Linked DNA regions of Homo sapiens: region 2 is linked to region 1. The links are contacts of gene promoters, found by promoter capture Hi-C in blood cells and fetal thymus (Javierre and others, 2016). All regions are on one chromosome and are shown on one strand. Each heading gives the region's core, a stretch centred on a gene start or on the middle of the fragment in contact. The rest is flanking DNA. Distances are from core to core; before and after follow the strand shown.

The links. The method cuts DNA at HindIII sites, captures the fragments that hold promoters and counts their contacts. A CHiCAGO score of 5 or more calls a contact.
Region 2: a contact is called between a fragment that was not itself captured here and the fragment with the promoter of ADAM18 in region 1, in 1 of 17 cell types (neutrophils). The highest score is 5.9, in neutrophils.

The regions. Positions count from the first base shown.
Region 1 is chr8:39,582,168-39,587,086 of GRCh38, reverse strand. ADAM18 (ADAM metallopeptidase domain 18) reads right to left here and starts at 2,519. Exons shown (of 20, transcript NM_014237.3): 1 at 2,410-2,519; 2 at 1,735-1,811. The coding sequence starts at 2,464. RefSeq lists an enhancer at 1,854-2,353. The HindIII fragment of the contact is 1,955 bases long and covers 1,702-3,656 here.
Region 2 is chr8:39,319,330-39,324,248 of GRCh38, reverse strand. It overlaps the pseudogene ADAM5. Among named protein-coding and RNA genes, the nearest start is that of ADAM32, 210 kb to the right of the region's middle. The HindIII fragment of the contact is 5,299 bases long and covers 1-4,919 here.

The DNA.
Region 1 (4,919 bases), core at 1,270-3,769:
TTTTATATCAATTATAACTCAATAAAGTTTTAAAAACATGAAAATAATACCCTATACAATAAAATATAGCTTCAAGAATTCCATATAAATAATACCAAAAGTGTAGACAACGAATGAATACTGCATGTCTCTCATAGTAAAACTATTTCATCAAGCCCTGCGTAGTTGCTATATGCTTCTTGACAAGTAGTAAGAAATTTGAAGTTTACAGTGATTATGCAATGACAATGTACAATAGTAGTAAATCTGGGGAAAAAACAGAATAGATGATAGATAGATAGATATAGATAGATAGATAGATAGATAGATAGATAGATAGATAGATAGATAGTTTTTTGTTTGTTTGTTTTTTGTTTTTAAGAGATGAAGTCTTGCTCTGTCATCCAGGCTGGAGTACAGTGACACAATCACAGCTGACTGCAGCCTCCAACCGCTGGGCTCAAGGGGTACTCCCACCTCAGCCTCCAGAACAGCTGGGACTACAGGCACACACCACCACACCCAGTTAAGTTATTTTTGTAGAGATGGGGTCTCACCAACTTGCCCAAGCCAGCCTCAAACTCCTAGGCTCAAGCGATCCTCCAACCTTGGGATCCCAAAGTGTTGGGATGGGATTGTGTTGGCAGAAAATAACTTATGCAAATAATTCTTCAACAGAAAGCAGCTTACTGTAGTGGAAATGGAGTTAAAAATTAAAGATTAGACTCTACATGCTAACACAGATTTGATGCCATTAATATTTTTTAATCCTCTGTCTTTTAAAAAGAATATATGTAATAAATAATCCTATTTCAGAAGGATAATGTGATAAATAAGATTTATATATGAAAATCCTTTCCAACTTCTCTAAAAGAAAGTATTCATTTTATTGTGATTCCCAAACATAATTTGACATATACTTTATTATAATTGTTCACTAGTAGAACATAGCCATGGTAGGTCCCAATATTGTGTGCCAAAATAGAATTAATAGATTAATCTTTTCCTTACTCATAATTTTAAAATCACTCTTTCAACCTGAAACATTTTCAGAGTTGACATATATTGTGCCCATTTTGACTGCATAGAAATATAAACCCCTATATTGTGACTTCCAGTTTGTAAAATAAAACATTTTAAATCTGTCAATTTCAGGTGTTTCAATCAAGAAAACATGCAAGACTGAATGCCTTCAGTTTAATCAGTTTTTAATCTAGCAGGCAGGTTAGTAATTTTCCAACTTCTTTTTCCAGTTAATATTTACTTATTGTAATATTTTTCATCATAATAGGGCAAATGTGATATTTTTATTTTTTCTTTGCTTTTTTAAAATTTCTTTGTACATTACGTGCTATTAAGACTGATGCTTGTGGGTCAAATTTTGCATGTCTAAATTTTACTTATGACAAATTTCTACATCATTTACTGGACAATAAAAAATTTGTTAATTTGTTGGCTGAACCATGGTCATGAATATTTTATATTGATTTCTTTTTCCCACCAGTTTGATTGCTGAGCATTTCTTGGAAATTGTGAACAAGTAGTATGTTAAGAAGAGATGAAGAGAAAAGACAGGGAAATAAGCAGCAGAAATGGGGGAACAAGAGGATCAAAACACGGTAGGAGACAAAATAGCACAGGCAAAATATTATGATTTGGCAATGAATACAAATTAGTATGATCTGACTTAATATAAGGGTAAATAAAAATTGCCATAAAGCTTTAAATATAGAATAAATATTCCTCATCATTTACCTTCCTCTCTGAAACTTCACTGTCATTTGACTTAATCTTCCGTGGAACTGTGACATGCAGAAATATTCCTTCAGAACCTGCAGTAAGAAAATGTGTTTGTTTTTGTCTTTGTTTTGCATCAACAATCGTCTCAGTCAAGCACGGGTTCTTATCCCGGACTGCATGGTGGCGCCTAAAATTTTAAGTAGAAGTTCTCTCATGTGCTCACACTCTTTCTAGTCCACAAATTTCACTACATAATCAACAGCACATTGAAAATGGCTAAGACACAAAAAAAGAAAAAAAAATTAGACATTGCAGTTCTACAGGCCCCTCTGGTTCCCTTTTAGAATCGATGAGAGACTTGCTTCCTCAGGACTCTGAGGAGTTCGCTGAAGGCAGTTAGTACTCCACCACCTCCACCCTCCTTCACAGAGTGGGAAGATGCCAGAAGACGCACTGCGTGTGGGCCACTGAGACCATGGGCGCTGATGCAGAGCGCTAACAGGTCCTCCGCTAAGGCCTTTAGTTCCCCCTGGCCTGGCGTGGAAAGGTGTCCCTGACACACCAGAAGCACCAGCATGGGATCCCAGAAGGGAGAGGGGGAGGGTCCCAGAATGACAAGAAACTGCTCCCAGTAAGAGCCCAGCCCAGCTATAAAGTCGAAGAAGAAAGGGGAGGCTCCCATGGACTTACCTTCGTGGGCTTGCAGTCTTCCAAGCTCAGTGAGGAGGGCGAGGAGAAGGAACATGGCTCAGCCAGAGCGCAGGAGCCACAGCCAAGGACAGAGACCGTTGAGCAGCGTTGAGCTCGCGGGCAGGCTCTCGGCCACCGGGCGCCTGGGCCAGGGAGGACCCTGTGCTGCCCCAGGACCCTGGGGGTGAGGTCTGAGGAGCTCTGAGAGCTGGGCCACTTCCGCAGGGCGGGGAGGGGAAATGCCAGATGCAAGCATAGGTGTTTGCACAAAATTTGTTGCAGAGACGTTTAAGTTGTTTAAAGCCCTCAGTAGTTACATTGGGGTAAATAAGCTAGATTTTCCTTTTTAGTGAGGTTTTCTTTAGTGAGGTTGGTAATTTTGTTTCTCCATATCACAGTTTTATGGCAGGTTTTATTTACTAAGGTGGAGGAGAAAGAGGAAAAGGGAAATAACAGCTATTATTATTAGCTATTATTACTAGCAATTTTCTACATGCTACTGCTGACTTAAATATCTTTGCAAATACGGAAAAATCAAGAAAATTGAACTTTTTAATGCTGGTACGATTTCACCGTTATTCATGATAACCAAGATATGGAATCAACCTAAGTGTCAATGAGGAATGAGTAAATAAAGAAAATGTGGTAAATATACACAGTGGAATAGTATACAGCCTTAACGAAGGAAATTCATTTGCAACAACAGGGATGGAACCAGAGAACGTTATGCTAAGGGAAATATGCCAGGCACAGAAAGACAAATACTGTATGATCTCATTTGAATGTGGAATCTAATAAAGTCTATCTTATAGAAGGATGATTACTAGAGGCCAGGGAAGGTGGGATGAGGGATGGGGAAAGGGAAAATGTTGATCTAAAGGTACAAAATATGAGTCAGACTGAAAGAATAAGTTTTAATGATCTCTTGCACTACATGGTGATCACAGTTAATAATAATGCATATTTCAAAATTGCTAAAATTTATTTTCAATGTTCTCACCACAAAGAAAAGATAAATTGATGAGGAGATGGGTATATTAACTAGCTTGACTGAAGCATTCTATAATGTATAGATAGATCAAAACATCACGCTGTACCCTATAAATACACAAAATTATTTGAAATAAATTTGCAGAAAAGAAAATGGAGTTGATCCCACTAAGACCATCAAAAAGCACATTTCTTCAACAGTGTATTTTTCTCATAAAACTATATTATAATCAGTGGAGGAAAGAGAAAGGAAAGCTTTAATATTTAGTGTTATTTTTGCAAATAAAGAGAATTCAAGAAAATGGAACTTTATCTTGAAAAGACAATCAGAAAGCACTTTACTTCAACTGTGTACCTTGCTTACTACACAAGATTATAATATAGTGTTCTAAGGGAAAAGAAAACCTTTACAATGCAATCTGACTGTTTTGTTAACAGTGACTCTAAGCTCTAAGTAAGAAACTGTGGAGACAGGAAGGGCAGCAAGGCAAGGGGAGAGAGAAAAATTGAGACCACTGTAGAAGACTATGCAACTGCCTCCCTTAACTTTTTGACAAATATCTTAAATGGCACATGTCCAAAACCCAACCCATCTATCACACTCAAGCCTTTTACTCCAGTACCCCCTATTTCAGGGATGAATTGTGTCAAAATATGTGTGCAAAAATTGTGTGCAAAATTGTGTGCAAAAATAAAACTGATCAGGGCCGGGAGTGGTGGCTCATGCCTGTAATCCCAGCACTTTGGGAGACCAAGATGGGTGGATCACCTGAGGTCAGGAGTTCGAGACCAGCCTGGCCAACATGGTGAAACTCCATCTCTACTAAAAATATAAAATTACCCTGGTGTGGTGGTGGGCGCCTGTAATCCCAGGTACTTGGAAGGCTGAGGCAGGAGAATTGCTTGAACCCCAAAGGCAGAGGTTGCAGTGAGCCAAGATCGTGCCATTGCACTCCAGCGTGGGCAACAAGAGCAAAACTCCATCTCAAAAAATAAAAAACAAATAAAATAAATAAGACTGATCAGGACTAAAACTTGGATCTGCTAAGTGCTGGTACGCCTGAACAGATAGCTCAAAAATTATTATTGACAAGAAGCAGGCCATTGAGCACAATGACCCAAAATAAGTTAGTGGCAATGAAGATGAGAGAAATCTGGTAGAATTATCCCAGGTTATATTTTCTGGTAAATTTATCCCAGGTTGTATTTTTAAACAGCTTTATTGAGATATAATTCATATGCCATGCAATTTACCCATTTAAAGCATACAATTAAGTGATTTTTAATATGTTCTCAGATATGTGTGAACATCACTATAGTCAATTTGAAATTAGTTTCATCACATCATGAAGAAACTCTGTGCCCATTAGCCATAAAGTATCCTCCCACCCCCAAAACAAGTTCTTTATCCCACCCCTCTACTCCCTAAACAACCACTAAACTAATTTCTATCTTAAGAGATGTCTCTATTCTGGACTTTTCATACAAATGAATATGTTATAGGAGGCAGAAAGAAATTA
Region 2 (4,919 bases), core at 1,127-3,626, 260 kb after region 1:
TCATAAATCTTGTGTATAAATCCTGATACAGCCTCCATCGGTTCAATTCCATATGAGATGTTTTTCAGCTGCATTGTTCCCCTGAGTGTTAAGACAATCGAAACAAGTCTGAAATGATTCTACTAAAACCATAATTTTTTTCTTTTTTTCTTTGAGACGGAGTCTTGCTCTGTCGCCCAGGCTGGAGTGCAGTGGCGCGATCTCGGCTCACTGCAAGCTCCGCCTCCCGGGTTCACGCCATTCTCCTGCCTCAGCCTCCCGAGTAGCTGGGAATACAGGCGCCCGCCATTACGCCCAGCTAATTTTTTGTATTTTTAGTAGAGACGGGGTTTCACCATGTTAGCCAGGATGGTCTCGACCTCCTGACCTCGTGATCCGCCCGCCTCGGCCTCCTGAAGTGCTGGGATTACAGGCGTGAGCCACCGCGCCCGGTCTAAAACCATAATATTATAACGAGAAATTTGGGCCACAGTTTTTAAGATCTAAAGTGACCTTAGCTTTTTTTTTTTTTTACTTTTATCTCTTTATCTTTTGGGGTCTTTCTTACACCAGAACTAGACGACTATATCACAGGATACATATTACCTTACATTACAAATCTGTGATTATCTTCAAGAAAGCATGGTGGTGGCATGGATCTGTGCACTTAAACAGGTTGAAACCCCTTTCTATTATGTATATTTTCTAACCAGCCTGTAGAATCTCTAGGCAGTCTCTTCTTTAGTCTTTGATTCCTTCTCTTTGATACACTTAACTCTCCTCTGACACTTGATACCCTAAATCATTTGTTTGTGTGGGCTGGATTGAAGGTACCATATGCCTAATAATGACTGACTGCAGAGCCAGCGTCCATTAGTCCCATGCATTCCACAATTGTCAATTTTTCTAGGACATTAGGAAATTGGACAATAACAGAATTTGAGAAAACTAAAAAAGTATGAGGAGACCAATCAATCTCCCTACACTCAACCTTTCTTAAAGCCTAAAGCAGCAGATCCTGTCAGTATCAACAGGTAGCCTCTCATCAGGAACAGATACTGCTAGAATATCAATACTATTTTATTAGTAATTTTGGTTCAGTCCTTAAGGAACTGAAATATAACAAAGGTGATTATAGAATTAGAACAGATACATGGAGAATTAATTCATAGGCTAGCAGGATATAATACTGGCAAATTGAGTATCTTTAAGTAGTCTACAACCTGAGTCCTGAACATACGCTGAGAGTCACAAGAGAATTTGGAATACCCGCAACATATCCATTATAATTGCAATCCATCTAGGAAAAAAAAAGAAAAATTAATGGATAACTTATTTTTAAAATAAACACCCCATATATTTTATTTATATTTATTTATATGTATTACTTTATATTTTTTATTTATTTTTTACTTTAGCTACATTTACTATTTATTACTTTAGCTACATTTCTACTTTAATATGATTGGCAATTACCTAATAAATTTGTGCCATGTAGAAATAAGCACCAGCCCAAGTTATTCAATTTCAGCGAATATGTAAAATAACATTCTAGTTATTATAGAATATTTGTCTTTTTAAAGAAATCTAGAATTACAAATACATAAGAAAAAAATAACCTAATTCTTACCTGAACTAGCAGAGGTTTGGAATGACGGATGTCATTTTCGTCATAAGAATTAATAACAGAAGCTGAAGATAAAATTGATCTAGGCAAAAATAATAAAAACATGCTCAAGTTGTGAAACCAAAAAGGTAGAAAAAATATTCTTATACAAATTTTCTTTTTACTGAAAAATTTAAAGTAGTGCTAATCGACTTGTTTTATTATTGTCCATGCATTTCTAGCACTTAAACTGAATTAGGTGCTTAGTGAGACATTTTAACTAGAATAACATACAATACAAAAATGCAGATAAGTGAGCAACTCAGATTGCTAGAGACATGAAGAGGAAATAGCATAGGTCCCAATTTCCAGCATAGAACTTTCTAGTCTTTGTCTATTTCACTCATTGATTTTAGATTTTATACCAAAGTTTCAAAATTAAAGTGTAAGGTTAGGACAGTGATACGGTTTGGCTCTGTGTCCCCACCCAAATCTCATCTTGCGGCTCCCATAATTCCTACATGTTGTGGGAGGGACCCAGTGGGAGATGACTGAATCATGGGGGCGAGTCTTTCCCATGCTGTTCTTGTGATAATCAATGGGTCTCATGAGATCTGATGGTTTTAAAAACGGGAGTTTCTCTGCACAAGCTCTCTCTTTGCCTGCTGCCATCCACGTAAGAGGTGACTTGCTCCTCGTCTTCCACCATGATTGTGAGGCCTCCCCAGCCATGTGGAACTGTAAGTCCAATAAACCTCTTTCTTTTGTAAATTGCCCAGTCTTGGGTATGTCTTTATCAGCAGTGTGAAAACAGACTAATACAAACAGAAAATGTAGAAAGAGTTACTTGTTCTCACTACAAATTCATATTTGCTAAGCTATGCTAAGGGCCAATTTCTTCTCAATAACTCCGGTCAGAATTTTATTTCCCTCAGTAACTATTCAAAAACTTGAGACTACTCCTGTCACTCATCCCACAAAACCCCCATGTTCCCTCACTGTCAGATCACCTGTTCCCATCTGCACTCCTTATCTTTATTGCCAGAAGATTACTGCTTTCATTCAGAACAAACCCTTACACTGGTGCTACAGATACCATCCTGTGCCATATACGGAGGACACTACTTTTTCTATCCTATAATTTTGAACTCTTATGCTCTACTGGATTTTTATCATAATGCTATTTAAAATGATACTAATAAGTCATTATTATCCTAAAGAACTCTTTCTTGACCCCATGTTCTACTGTAGCTATTCCTTATGTACATGTTTTTCAATTCTTAACAGATTTCATCAAAAGAATTGTCTACACACAATTCCTTCACTTTCTCAATTCTTATTATCCCTAAAACTTCCCTGGAAAAGATCCACAAATATTAGAACGCCAAATCCAAAAGGCATTTTAAAAAATCATTGTTACATTGGACCTCTAGCTTCTTTTTGAAAACTGTGGCCACTCAGTCCCCTCACTTAATTTACATAACACTTCATTCTTCTGCTATTCTTCCTACCTCCTTGGTCCCTCCAGCTTTATCTTCCATGTTGGCTGCTGTTTTTGTTCAACCTATCCCAGGAAACATTGCCGTTTCCCAGGGTCCAGTCTTTAGCCACGATCTATTTATAAGCACCCTACGTAAGAGCACTCATTAAAAAAAAAACACAGCCAAGCTACTGCTTTCTGCTCAATCTATATACCTATAGCTAAAACTATTTTCCAATATTCCTATTGAATATTTTCAGAGATTCAAATTTCCTAGCCACATATGGCCCAGGATGGCTTTGAATGCGGCCCAATGCAAATTTGTAAACTTTCTTAAAACATTATGAGATTTTTAAATTTTTTTTTAGCTCATCAGCTACCATAAGTGTATTTTATATGTGGCCCAAAACAATTCTTCCAGTGTGGCTCAGGGGAACCAAAAGATTGGACACCCCTGATCTAGAGGAAAAAACACACTTGGATATCTCATATGTGCTAAAAAACCGAAATCACCCCTTCCTCACACAAATATATCCCCTGTTCATATTCCTCAGTTAATTATGCTATAGCCTATTCATTTTCTTGAGCGACAACTAAATTATCTGAAATTCCTCACTGTTTACTAATCATTCTACCAAATCTATATTGAGGTCCACCGATTTTTCTTTCAAGTGCTATCACTGGTGCCATCATTCAAACCACCACTGTTACTCACCTAAACTGTATCGTGATATAATTGATCACCTTAACTCTAATTTGTCCCCTCAAAAACAGCCTAAAAGACTCAATGTGGCTACATAAGTACATACTTAAAACCATTTTTGGCTCCCAATATCTGACCATGGCATTCTGAATCTTCTACAGCCTGGCTCCTACCTACCTTTCCCGAATCTTTTACCTCTATTTTTCAGAAAATTTGTGCTTCAGTAATTCACATTGACTATGCACATCAGAAAAGCCACTCTGTCTCACACCTCTGTGCTCTACCATGATTTCTTCTCGAAACAGAATGTTGGCTGGGTGCAGTGGTTCACGCCTGTAATCCCAGCACTTTGAGAGGCCAAGGAGGGAGAAATGCTTCAGGGCAGGAGTTCAAGGCCAGCCTGGGCAACATGATGAAACCCCATCTCTACTAAAAGTACACAAAATTAGCCAGGCATGGTGGTGCACACCTGTAGTCCCAGCTATTTGGGAGGCTGAGGCATGAGAATTGCTGGAACCCAGGAGGTAGAGGTTGCAGTGAACCGAGATCACTCCACTGCACTCTAGCCCGGGCAACAGAGCAAGACTCTCTCAGAAAAAAAAATGTCCCCCTGTCCTGCCCCTCTACTTTATATAGCTCTGTCTCCTCCCTTAAGATACAAGTAATCTCTTACCTCTTCCATAAAAGCCTTTCCTGACTTCCAAGTAATACTATTTACACATTTATCATATTACCATATTATAATAAAATTATTTGTTTTTCTATTAAGGTATCTGAATGTATCTTTCTTTATTATAAATTCTTTAACAGTGCAATATGTTTTATTCTCTTTTGCATGCCTAGGACTTTACTCAGTACCCAGTATAGAGTAGGCATCAATATATTTGAATCAAAATGATTCATTCTACTTATACATACTTTTAGAAATTAAGAAGCCAAAGTATTAAAATTTGAAAGGACAAACTAATTACTTACTGCTTTTTGAGATGGACAAAATATGGCTTTCCCTATGGTAATCATGTAAATAACCTATAACAAAATTATTAGAAAAATTCAATAATAACACATGCCAAATAGTGTATCTTCTCCAAATTAGAGTTTAAAATATTGACAAAATTAATAACAACCTGTAACCATTATATTGGCTTTCC